Regions from separate parts of the Homo sapiens genome. Here all the other regions are linked to region 2. Evidence: promoter capture Hi-C in human tissues and cell types (Jung and others, 2019). All regions are on one chromosome and are shown on one strand. The core of a region is centred on a gene start or on the middle of the fragment in contact, and the rest is flanking DNA. Distances in the headings are between cores, read along the strand shown.

What was found. Contacts are between HindIII fragments. The study calls those that stand out against the background at their distance.
Region 1: a fragment that was not itself captured here is called in contact with the fragment with the promoter of NTNG2 in region 2 in 2 of the 25 tissues and cell types used here (dorsolateral prefrontal cortex and hippocampus).
Region 3: a contact is called between a fragment that was not itself captured here and the fragment with the promoter of NTNG2 in region 2, in 2 of the 25 tissues and cell types used here (H1 embryonic stem cells and pancreas).

What each region holds. Positions count from the first base shown.
Region 1 is chr9:132,039,536-132,043,284 of GRCh38, reverse strand. All of the region lies in intron 2 of MED27 (mediator complex subunit 27), which reads left to right. Among named protein-coding and RNA genes, the nearest start is that of MED27, 38 kb to the left of the region's middle. RefSeq lists enhancers at 300-1,499, 1,982-2,481, 2,482-2,983. The HindIII fragment of the contact is 6,261 bases long and covers 1-3,749 here.
Region 2 is chr9:132,160,058-132,163,786 of GRCh38, reverse strand. It overlaps NTNG2 (netrin G2), which reads right to left and starts at 1,729. Exons shown (of 8, transcript NM_032536.4): 1 at 1,548-1,729. LOC124902291 (a long non-coding RNA gene) reads left to right here and starts at 2,087. Exons shown (of 2, transcript XR_007061826.1): 1 at 2,087-2,171; 2 at 3,184-3,329. The HindIII fragment of the contact is 9,283 bases long and covers 1-3,729 here.
Region 3 is chr9:132,263,566-132,267,226 of GRCh38, reverse strand. It overlaps SETX (senataxin), which reads left to right. Exons shown (of 26, transcript NM_015046.7): 26 at 2,242-3,661. The coding sequence ends at 2,988. Among named protein-coding and RNA genes, the nearest start is that of SETX, 90 kb to the left of the region's middle. The HindIII fragment of the contact is 6,889 bases long and covers 1-3,661 here.

The sequences.
Region 1 (3,749 bases), core at 691-3,190, 120 kb after region 2:
CAAGTAAGTTGCTCAGGGTCTGGCAGTGAAAATAACTGTGATGCTAGCACCCAAATCTTGGACTTCTAGTATAAGTGTTACTTTTTCTTTCCGTTTTGAAACACTGTAATACCTCCTCATTGTGTTGATAGTATTGTGGTTTTTTTGACCCTCACCCTATATAGATTTAACTTTATTGGTTTTAACTATATAGATTTTTTCTGAAGAGTCATTTAAATTTTGGGGAAGCAGTGCTCTTATTACTGAGAGTTTTACATTTGCCTACTCCAGATGTTACTAGAAAACTTACCTTGTCCCTCAAAAACAAAAGTACCTATGGTCTATGGGATATCTGTGTATTGACCTCTCTAATTTGTTCCCATAGCTAGAGTTGGCAAAGGTAATGTACACATGATTAATTGGTACGTGATCACCTCTTTTATACAATCAATACCATGGTTCCAAATGAATAAACCTATCTTGAAAGATGGCTAGCCTTTCAAAAAGTCAAATGCTGGGGATTTTCCACTGGCTCTAGTTCAGTTTTTGCTAATTTTTATAACTCACATCAACATTCAGGTCACAGATGTGGATTAAAAGTGAAGCCCAGTGAAATAAGATCTAACTTGCAATGGTGGTGTGTGCAGCAGGGTCCACTCATAGATCTAAGATTCCAGCATCAGAAATGCTTAGTGTTCTTCTTGGCATTTCCTTCAGTGCTGACTCACGGTGAATGCAGATTGTGGCCACTAGACTGTGGATAAAGGAGGGGCAGGAATTGTGGGATCTTCAGTCCCAGAGGTCCCTGGGCAGTATGGCATTGTGGTTATGAGTGCAGACGTTGAAGTCTCATACCTCTTGGCACTTCCTTTTTGCCTTGTGACCTGCAGCAAGTGACTTTACCTCGTGAAGCCTGTTTTCTCATCTGTAAAATGGGGGCAACATCAGTATACACACTTTCGAGCATAAAGAGTTTATACAATGTATAAATAGGGTGTCCATGAGACTGTTTCAGTGAAAGCCTTTTCTCCGTGCCTGGCACACAGCATGGGTTAATAACTGTAGCTGCCGGTAGTGATGGCCGTCACCATCATCTTTGTCATCCTTAAGCCAGCCTCTTCATTTGTAGAGGAAGAAACTGAGTCCCAGATCCTGTGGCCACTCAGCAGCCCAGCTGGGACAAGACTGGCAGCGTCTGTGCTTCCCGTGCCGTGCTCTTTCCACCCCGCCACCTGCCTGTCTCCACATATCTCTAGATCACGTACTTTGTCACCTCCCCTGGTTCTCTGCAGTGCCGGCAGATCCTAACAACAGATGGTCCTGTTTTGAATTAAAACAATTTAACTCAAGATCCATCAACTGCCAACATCAAACACCCTTAAAAGAAGGAAAGAAACTCATTATCAAGAGTATTTAAGCAAAGTAGGTATTTAATCTATCTTAATCATTTGCATTCTTGAGAAGAAGAAAGTCAGCGGCAGCTGCCACCGTAGGCCAGGCCCCACGAACGTGTTTGCACGTAATTGCTTCTCCCTTTTCTTCTTTGCCATACCGTACTGATTTGGACTTTGGCCCTTAAGAACAAATTTTTCAGCACACTGACTATTTGACTATTTAAAAATTTAAAAAGTAATCTCTTTCATTTTGTTCCATACATCCTGTGACTGTCCATCTTTCAGTCGAGCTTTGTCACAACACACATGGGCACTGCAGGCCTTCTGACGCCGTGTGAGGCTGTGCTTGCAGTGCCCGACAGGAAGATGGGGAGCGACTGAGCTCTGTGGACGCTGCAGTCGGTAGCATGATGGTTACTGTCTGGCAGAACTGCAGTCCCCTATGTTAAATGTTCATTTGGTGCTACCCCTACATGCCATACCTGGTTCTTCCCAAAGCTTGGTGTCTACAGAATGTTTCCTTGCACCCAAATCACAGAGCTGATGGTGTGAGAGTGGATGTGTGAGCCATGAAAATATGCAGACTCTTTAGTCGTGTGTGCGTGCTCAGTTCAGTCCACTCAAGTCTGGGCTCTCAGCATGACTGTCTACTCTCCCACTTTGGACCCTCACTGCCATCCTCTCTGCTCTGTTAGCGAGCTTGTCGTCTCCCTCACAGCCCACATTAGGTGCTGAGGGACACAGAGGCAGTTGTTGACAACCCTCTTTTTCCCTTTGCTCTTTTTGTTTCTTCTCTCTACCCCTCTTTACTTTATTTCCTCTTTCTTGTTCTTCCCTTCTGCTCTTCTTCTCTGCTGCCCGTGGTGTGGTCTGATGACAGCTGCCAGCAGGGCTGCTGTGTTGCACTGCTTCCAGATAAATTGTACGCCTTGCCTCTGGAGTGGTGAGATGGCAGTGGCTCTGGGTCCTGGCTGCGAGTGCAGCTTAACTCTTTGGAACCAGGCTGTGGCCCCCTCCCCTCCCCTAATCTCAACATGAGGGAAAATGATGGAAGCACCTAGTTGTTTGACAAAGCATATGGGAGGAAATCAAACCGTTGCCTGGGCCTTCCTAGAATATCCTGCCGTGTGTGCTGGTGCTTGAGTGTGCGGTGTGTGTGCACGTGCACAGGGCGTACCGGCAGAAACAGAGATGTGCTGGTGGAGCCGAGCACTTTGTCACCTTGAGTGCTCCTTGCTGGGACCTTCATGTCCTTGACCAGATTGAAGCCTGATGGGCTGGAAGGTCTGGGTGTAGTTAAGCTCTGCCGTCTGCTCCCAGCTAAAAGTAAACATGCTGCCTTAGTATTTGTTTTCCACACCACACTTTTGCCCAATGTATAGATCTAAAGCCCTATTTATAGCTTTCTCGTGACATTTGTACGGGCAGTCTCTCGTCAGGTGATGCCTTCTCTGCATGTGGAGCCGCCTAAGACCAGCCAGCCGCTCTCCACGGCCCCACCTCTCATCCCAACTTAGATTTCTCTGTGTATAAATGGCTGCTCTTAAGCAACCTGCCATGCGGTTTCTTACCTAGTTTGGTTTAAAGTATTCTCCCACAGGGAAATAAAGCAAAAAGGTGATGGCATTTGCTTTTTAATCTTTTAATAATTCATTTCCCCGCCGCAGGGAAGAGACTGAGGCCCCTGGTGGCTGGCAGCAGCTTTGTTTAGTGCTGGGCAGCCCATATGCGGGGACTGATGCTGAGCACGACAAGGTGAAATCTCACAGGTCATCAATTTGTAGCTGACAGCATTTTGAAAAGTGATGTATAAGGAGCTGATATTGGTGTAGTGGTATGAGTGAAATTTATCATATCGTAAAGTGTATGTGAAAGGGGAATATTGTGTATTTTCTCTTTATCAAAATGTCCCACTTTTTTATTGATACTTTTCACCCTTCTATGGTCTTATGAAACAAGACAACAAAACAAAGCTTGGAATCATGAAATTTCAGAATTAGCAGAGAGGCCACAGAAGTACTATCTTTTATAAGGGAGGGACCTGCAGTCACAGAGGCGAGTGGTGTCCTTTGTAGCCAGTGAAACTCCTAGAGGCAGGACCCTGTCTTGAGTGTCTTTTTCTCCCCAGGGCCAGCACTGAACGGAGCACACAGTGGCGGTTAAGGGGTAGGAGGGATTGCCAAGCAGGTGGACTCTGGCTTCCTGGGTCCTCTTCCACTCGTCCTTGGGACACAGGGTGTTCACTCACTCTCCTTTGAAGTAGGGTTCCCCTCCTTGAAGTGTACCTTGGATCCAGTGTGGCCTTTGATGGCAGACAGACTGGCGGTGAATTTAGCTCAGTGGCCACTTGTGAGACCCAACCTTCTTTTCGCTCAG
Region 2 (3,729 bases), core at 480-2,979:
TATTGAATTAGCGCCTCCCGAGCTGGCTGGGCTCGCCAGCAGGTTCCTCTTGGAGTTGCCTGCTGCGCCCTCGCCGTGTGGGAAACTTGCCGCGGCGGGCGCGGGGCCCCTGGGGGCACGGGAGGGAGGGCGCTGGGGGCTCCCGGGGCTAGGGGGGATACTCAGCCCACCCCGGGGTTCCCTCTCCCTCCTCGGCAGGGGCGGCAGAGGGGGGTGAAATCTGCTTTCAGGGGAGAGTGGCGGTTGCCGGGAGGGAAAGGGAGCTTGGCCGGCGGGGTCACCTTCCCGTCCTCTGCCCCGGGCGGGGTCCAGCGGGCGCCCCGCGCTCACTGTAGCCTCGGCGGGCCTCTTAATTCCGGCGGCCCGGGTGTCCCCCCGCTCCGGAGCGGGCCCTTTATCCGGCCCCTGGGTCCCCGCCCGCGGGAGCCCTGGAAAGTTGGGCGCGGGAGGCGGGGCGCGAGCAGCAGCTCCCGGGTGGGTCCCGGCGGGCCGCGGGCGGGGTCGAGGCCGGGGCCAGGGTCGAGTCAGTGCTTCGGGCCGGCTGCGAGCCCTGTGCCTAGGACACCGACGACCCGGCAGCCCCGCAGCTGCTTTTCGTCTTCCCAAAGTTGCGTGCAAGCCACGGCAGCAATTAATAATTAAGCCCGTAATAAAGGCCCGGCCGGGACTGAGGCGCCCCCTTTTTCGGCACTGCCTCTCTTAATTAAAAGACACAGAGCAGGGCGCCCAGGAACTGGCTGTATCCTTTGCCCCGGCGCTGCCGCCTGTGGCGACCCGGCCGCCGCCGCCCCCAGCCCAGACGGCCAACTTACTCCGGAGCGGGCGGACCCCGCGAGCCCGCGGTCCTCTCTTCCCGCCTTCCCGCCGCCTCTGCTCCCCCCACCTGCGCGCCGCTCAGTTCCAGGTTCGACTCCACGCCGGCCCCAAACCAGTGCCTGCGCCCCCTCACCTCCCGACCCCCTCCCGGCGCCGGGAGAAGTTTCCAGCCGGACTGGCCGGGAGTTTCTCTGTGCAACTCACAGGCTCCCAGTTTGCAGAGAGATGGGAGGGCACGGGATGGGGGTGGCTCTAAGCGGTGGCGGTGGAATTGGGGTGGGGGAGAGGCGCGGGAGCAGGGTTAGTTTCCTTTTCCGAGACACATCCGAGCATCCTTGCAACATCCCTCCCCGACACACACACACACACACACACACACACACACACACACACACACACACTCTGTCTCTCTCTCACACACACACACACACACACTCTCACACACACGACGGAAAGGACCCGGGGGAAGCTGGCCAGAAAGACAAGCTACCCCTTTAAGATGCTGCTAAGAACGCACCCTCACACACCCCTCTGGGGCGACTCCAGTTCTCAGCTCGTAGCAGCCGCCACCAAACAACTTTTGCATCCGAGCCTTTGCCGGGCCGCTGTAAGTGGCTCCCGGGCCCGGGCAAGCCTGCATGGTCACCGAAGCCCTTTAAAAATGAAACCGGCCTGGCCAAGCTGCAGCCTCTCCCCCCGCCCGCCTCCCGGGCTCTCCCCGCCCGCCTTACCCCGGCTCGGAGCGGCTTCCCGGCGCGGAGACCTGGGAGGGCCGAGGACCGCCACCCTCCGGCGCTGCGCCTCCCCCCTCGGGCTGGCGCTGGGTGGGGGCGCGGGCCGAGGGCTGCGAGCCGCTGCTCCTTCCCCGCGCCGCTCCCGCCGCTGTGGCCGCCGCCGCCGCCGCCGTCAGATCGGGGCCAGGGAGCCCTCCGGCCGCCGGGGGGGCCGCCCGCAGCCGTCCCGGAGACGCGGGCCGGGGGAGGGGGCCGCCCGCGCCGCCCGCATCGCCCGCCCGGGCTGAGCGGGAGGTCGCCGCTAACAAGTGCAAACTTTTTGGCCCCCCTGGGCGGCCCGGGGAGGACCCGCGCTCGGGCGCCGGGCAGCCCCCGGCCCGGGTGGGCTTCGCGGCGTCTCGTCGGGGAGCCGGGGCATCCCCCCGGCGCGGCGCGGGCCAGATGGCGGGCGCTTCACTGCCCCCCTGCACTCCGCTCCAAGTTAATGCCGAGGCTAAATCCTCTTGCCATCACTCACGATCACCATCGGGGCTTTTATCTCTCGGTCTGATCCGGGCTGCGTAACTTCCTCTGTGTGGCTTTAACACACCATCCCACCACGGAGCAACGGTCTTCTTAAAGGTGCAGGAAGGAAATATTGCGCGGCTCGGGGGACGCGCCACGGCCCGGGGAGGGGCGCGGCGAGCAGGGGCGTCCCGGCGGGCCCGTGGCCAGGGTGGCCCCGGCAGCCTCTGGGGGGTCGCTGCCTAAACATCGCCTCCCGGCCCGGGGGCCAGCGGGTCCCTGCGCCCAGAGCGCATCCTCAGCCGGCTCCGGTCAGGCGCAGCCGGGCTGCAGCTTCCTCTTCCAAAACCCGGGGGCCTGCCGGGGTGCCAGCGCCCATGGGTGTGGGGGCTGCCCCATCGGCACGAGGGAGGGGGGCCAAGTGAGTCAGTTCCCCCACCCCCCACAGCCAAGGGCTCAGGGCTGCTCCTCGGTCTCTCTCTGTGAAGTGCTGCCACCCAGAAGGCCCCAAGCAGTGGGTACCGGGGTGGGTGGGTGGATTTGGGGAGATGGGGAGGGGGAGCGATCTGAGCGCACAACCAGAGCCTGAATACCAGCTGACACATCGCCGCCTCCACCCTGATGGGCCCTGCTTTTGACGAAGCCAAGCCAGCTCTGCAGGGAGTGCAGAGTAGTGGGGCAGGAGGGGCCTGGCTGAGGGGTTCTCTGTCTCCCTCCCCTGCAAGCATGGGAGGCAGGTGTGGGAGGGCTCCGGTAGCAGCAGCCCCGGGCAGAGGCCACCGAGTTCACAATATCATATCCGGCAGCCCTGGGCTCTCTGATCCCCAGGAGGTTTCCTGCCAGCCTGCCTCCCAGGGCTTCTGGGAGAGTTTCCACATCTTCCAGAAGCACATGTGGTTTTCGGACACTCCTGGCCTCCTGGGGTGGGCTCACTGCAGCCTTGAGCAGCCAGCACTGTCATTTGGATGCATCAAGAACAAAGGGCCTGAGGACAGACAGAGAGAGAGGCAGAGAGAGAGAGACCAGCCCAAGGTCACAGAGGGTGTTGGGAATGGAGCAAGACATGGCACCTCAGTGCCCCGCCCTGCTGCCACCCTTCACCTCCACCTTAACCCTTCCCTGTTCTCAGCTGCCCTGAAAACTGGAGACGGAGTTATACTGCTGAATAATATTTGGAATCTTGTGACAAAACAGGAAGAGGATGCAGAATTAAAGACTGTCATCTGCTGTAATAATAATAATAATATATTTATTGAACACCTGTTTTATGCCAGACTCCATGCAAACCAGTTTGTGTGCATTATTCACTGAATCTTCGCCAAAGCCCTGTGACTTCACTGCTAGTAGCAAAGCCTCAAGTTAGAGATGTTAAGTAACTTGCCCAAGGTCACATAGCTAAGGATTGTGGCCGGGGAGGCAGGGCTTTTGGGTTTCTGGGTGATGCTCTCTCACTGGCCTGGCTGGCTGGTGAACTTGGAACACGGCCCAGACTGCTTTGGGGCTCAGTTTCCCCATATGTGAGATATGAACGGTAAATCCTTCTTTTTTCAAAGAGGGGTCAAAAAACAGGGCCATTGTGTGCCTCTACCTGCACATGCTCTCAGATGCCTACCACTGGAGATGGGCCTATCTCACCAAGCAGCCCAGGAAGGCAGACATGGGCCCACCCCTGGTT
Region 3 (3,661 bases), core at 463-2,962, 100 kb before region 2:
TATTCTGGTCACATGACTTTCTCCAAACCTTGAAAAACTACTGTGAAGTCAGCTTATTACCATAGTTCATCAAATTCAAGAAACCATTCATTATAATATACACCACTATTTTATGTACCATTATTAGACTATGACACAGTGCCTTATTTTCACTTAGAACTTTCATATTTATTGAAAGGACTCTTAAGACTTTAGACAGATTTTTACCATATTCTTATCCATACATAGAAAATACAAGTAAAATAATAGGTTAAGATATTCCTAAAAATATTTCACTTTCAGAATTTAGCACGAATGAATCACTTCCCAATCCATAGTCATCAGTGTTGTCATTCATCCCAAGTGCAATAATAAGGTTGGCAATTTAGCATTTGCTAAGAGTTACACCATTGTCTCCAGGATTTCTTAGAACCCTTTATCTCCAGTGTATAAGGTTTTTTTGGGGGTTTTTTTTTGAGACAGAGCCTCACCTTGTTGCCCAGGCTGGAGTGCAGTGGCACAATCTCAGCTCACTGCAACGTCCGCCTCCTGGGTTCAGGCGATTCTCATGCCTTAGCATCTCAAGTACCTGGGATTATAGCTGTGCACCACTACACTTGGCTAATTTTTGTATTTTTAGTAGAGACGGGGTTTCACCATGTTGCCCAGGCTCGTCTTGAACCTCTGACCTCAGGTGATCCGCCCGCCTCAGCCTCCCAAAGTGTTAGGATTACAGGCATGAGCCACTGCACCTGGCCCAGTGCATAAGTTTTAATGCTGGTGTTATCTTGTCTTATCAGAAAATGTCTGTAGAAGGTTTTCAGGCATTATTTTTAAATGGTTTATTGACTAAAAGTCTAAGGGTTATAATTGCCTCATCATGTAATTTCCAAGGATAGGTACATGGCCAAGAGGCTCCCCAAGGTCAGAAATGCTAAAATGTGAAAGCAACGTGCACTTTAGAATCCATTAAATAAAATATTACTCCTATTTTACAGATGAGGAAACAGGCTCAGAGAGGTCAAGTGACTTGACCAAGGTCACACAGCAAGTAAATACTGTGCAGCCTCACTGCTTCCCTAACATACCTTTATGAACAGTACAGGAGCCCCCATGAGAGGGTAGCTATCCTTTTTCTTCTTTTCTTTCTTCTTTCTAAAGAGACCCGAATTCTAGTGGTTGTAAAGCAGCAGCCTCCTCTGAAGAAACTCGGGAAGAGAGGAGAGGTGCATGTGTTTGGCAACTTTCCCGATGGGATTTAATATCTTAAGCTCCTGTAGGAAACAGGCAGAAAGTGAGATGATATCTTGAGATCTCGGTGGATGAAGATGTTTTAGCCATTCGGGGTTTGGGAGGCCTTTAGAAATCCAGTGAAAGCCTTGGGCCTTTTTCTAGAATAGTCACATGCACTCAGAAGTTTGCTTTCTGAAACCAGACCTTCCTGTTTCAGAACGTTAGCCCTGCCAAGAGGTGTAGGCAGTACTCTAGATCACCAATGTCCAAAGGACCTTTCTGTGATAACGGAAATGTTTTGTGTCTGCACTGCTCAGTACAATAGCCATTAGTCGTGTGTGACCGCTGTGTACTTGAAATGTGGCTGATGCAATTTAGGAACAGAATTTTTTATTTTAATTTATTGAAATATAAATAGCAACATGATGCTCCTAGTGACTAGTGCAGACCTGCGTTGCAGTTGAATGCACTGATAAAAATGGCTGAAGTTCGGCCAGGCACGGTGGCTCCTGCCTGTAATCCCAGCACTTTGGGAGCTGAGGCGGGCGGATCATGAGGTCAGGAGATCGAGACCATCTTGGCTAACATGATGAAACCCCGTCTCTACTAAAAATACAAAAAATTAGCCGGGCGTGGTGGCGGGTGCCTGTAGTCCCAGCTACTCGGGAGGTTGAGGCAGGAGAATGGCGTGAACCCGGGAGGTGGAGGTTGCAGTGAGCCAAGATCGCGCCACTGCACTCCAGCCTGGCAACAGAGTGAGTCTCTGTCTCAAAAAAAAAAAAAAAAAAAACAAAAGTTGAAGTTCTCCATTATAGGTTGTGACCAGGTCTTATTTTTAGGAATGGGACTTTATCATTTTTTATTTGAATTTATTTTTTCCTTTCATCCTTGTCTGACGAGTAATGAATCTTGAGAATATGTTCATACAATAATATGTATTATTTGTTCAGAAATGAAAGCTGGAACTCTATGCTTCCCAAGCAGTGTCTCTTTGGGGTGTAATTATTTCTCCCTTCTCATTGTTTCAAGGAAAACCAGCATTGGAATCAGCTGATTCAGGATGCTCAGAAGCGTGGTGCCATTATTAAGACCTGTGACAAAAACTATAGACATGATGCAGTGAAGATTCTGAAACTCAAGCCTGTGCTGCAGAGAAGTCTCACTCACCCTCCTACCATAGCCCCAGAGGGGTCCAGACCCCAGGGTGGTTTGCCCAGCAGCAAGCTAGACAGTGGATTTGCCAAGACATCTGTTGCTGCTTCTCTATACCACACACCCTCTGACTCCAAGGAAATTACTCTTACTGTTACTTCAAAGGACCCTGAAAGACCTCCTGTTCATGACCAACTTCAGGACCCACGACTGCTGAAGAGGATGGGCATTGAGGTCAAAGGAGGAATATTCCTTTGGGATCCACAACCCTCGAGCCCCCAGCATCCTGGAGCAACACCTCCTACGGGCGAGCCGGGCTTCCCTGTCGTTCACCAGGACCTGAGCCATATACAGCAGCCCGCTGCTGTAGTGGCTGCTCTGAGCAGCCACAAACCTCCCGTGCGGGGCGAACCTCCAGCTGCCAGTCCCGAGGCTTCCACGTGTCAGAGCAAATGTGATGACCCGGAAGAGGAGCTCTGTCACAGGAGAGAGGCCAGGGCTTTCAGTGAAGGGGAGCAGGAGAAGTGTGGTTCCGAGACCCATCACACCAGGAGGAACTCTAGGTGGGACAAGAGGACACTGGAGCAGGAGGACAGCAGTTCCAAGAAAAGAAAGCTTTTATAGGAAAGCCCAGTGACATGGGCCAGCAGCCACAGCATATTGTAAACTGAAGATGACCAGCTCGTGGGACCATCTAGATAAGCTTGTTTTTTGTAAGGAGTTTGTGTGCTGTTGGAAAACATGGAAAATGCATCCTTAACACCTGAGCCTCTGGTCATCTTCAGTATTTTCTGTCATTTGCAAAAGCTTTCAGAGGGCATTGTGTATCCGTAATAATGTCCTTGAAGTCAGAGACTGGAAATGTTGATCTCTTAGTCTTCTATAGACAAGGAGGTCAGACTGGAGTGAATGTTGTAAAAGTTGAAATGTATATTTGTATAGCAAATAACAAAATCCTTTTAAAATTTAATCTAGTAGACCGCTTTTCTTTCCCCCTGTTTAAAATGTTAATCAGTTTTCAACAGAACAAACTTTATATTACCAAAAAAAAAAAGATGGGAGGAGGGCGGGTCCTTTCAACCATTGTTAGAGCAAGACAGATAATTATTTAACAGCCTAGCTTGGAATAAGCTGAGTTAGTGCTGGTGGGTCAGGTGTCTCTGGCTCTATTAAAAAAAGCAAAAACCCCCCCAAAAACCTGGAGTCTCCTAGGGGACACTTTGGGCAGCACGGTTATGTTAGGTAAAGTCTTGCTGACATGGTGCATTTTTAGATAGAGTGCATTGGCCCAGGGTAT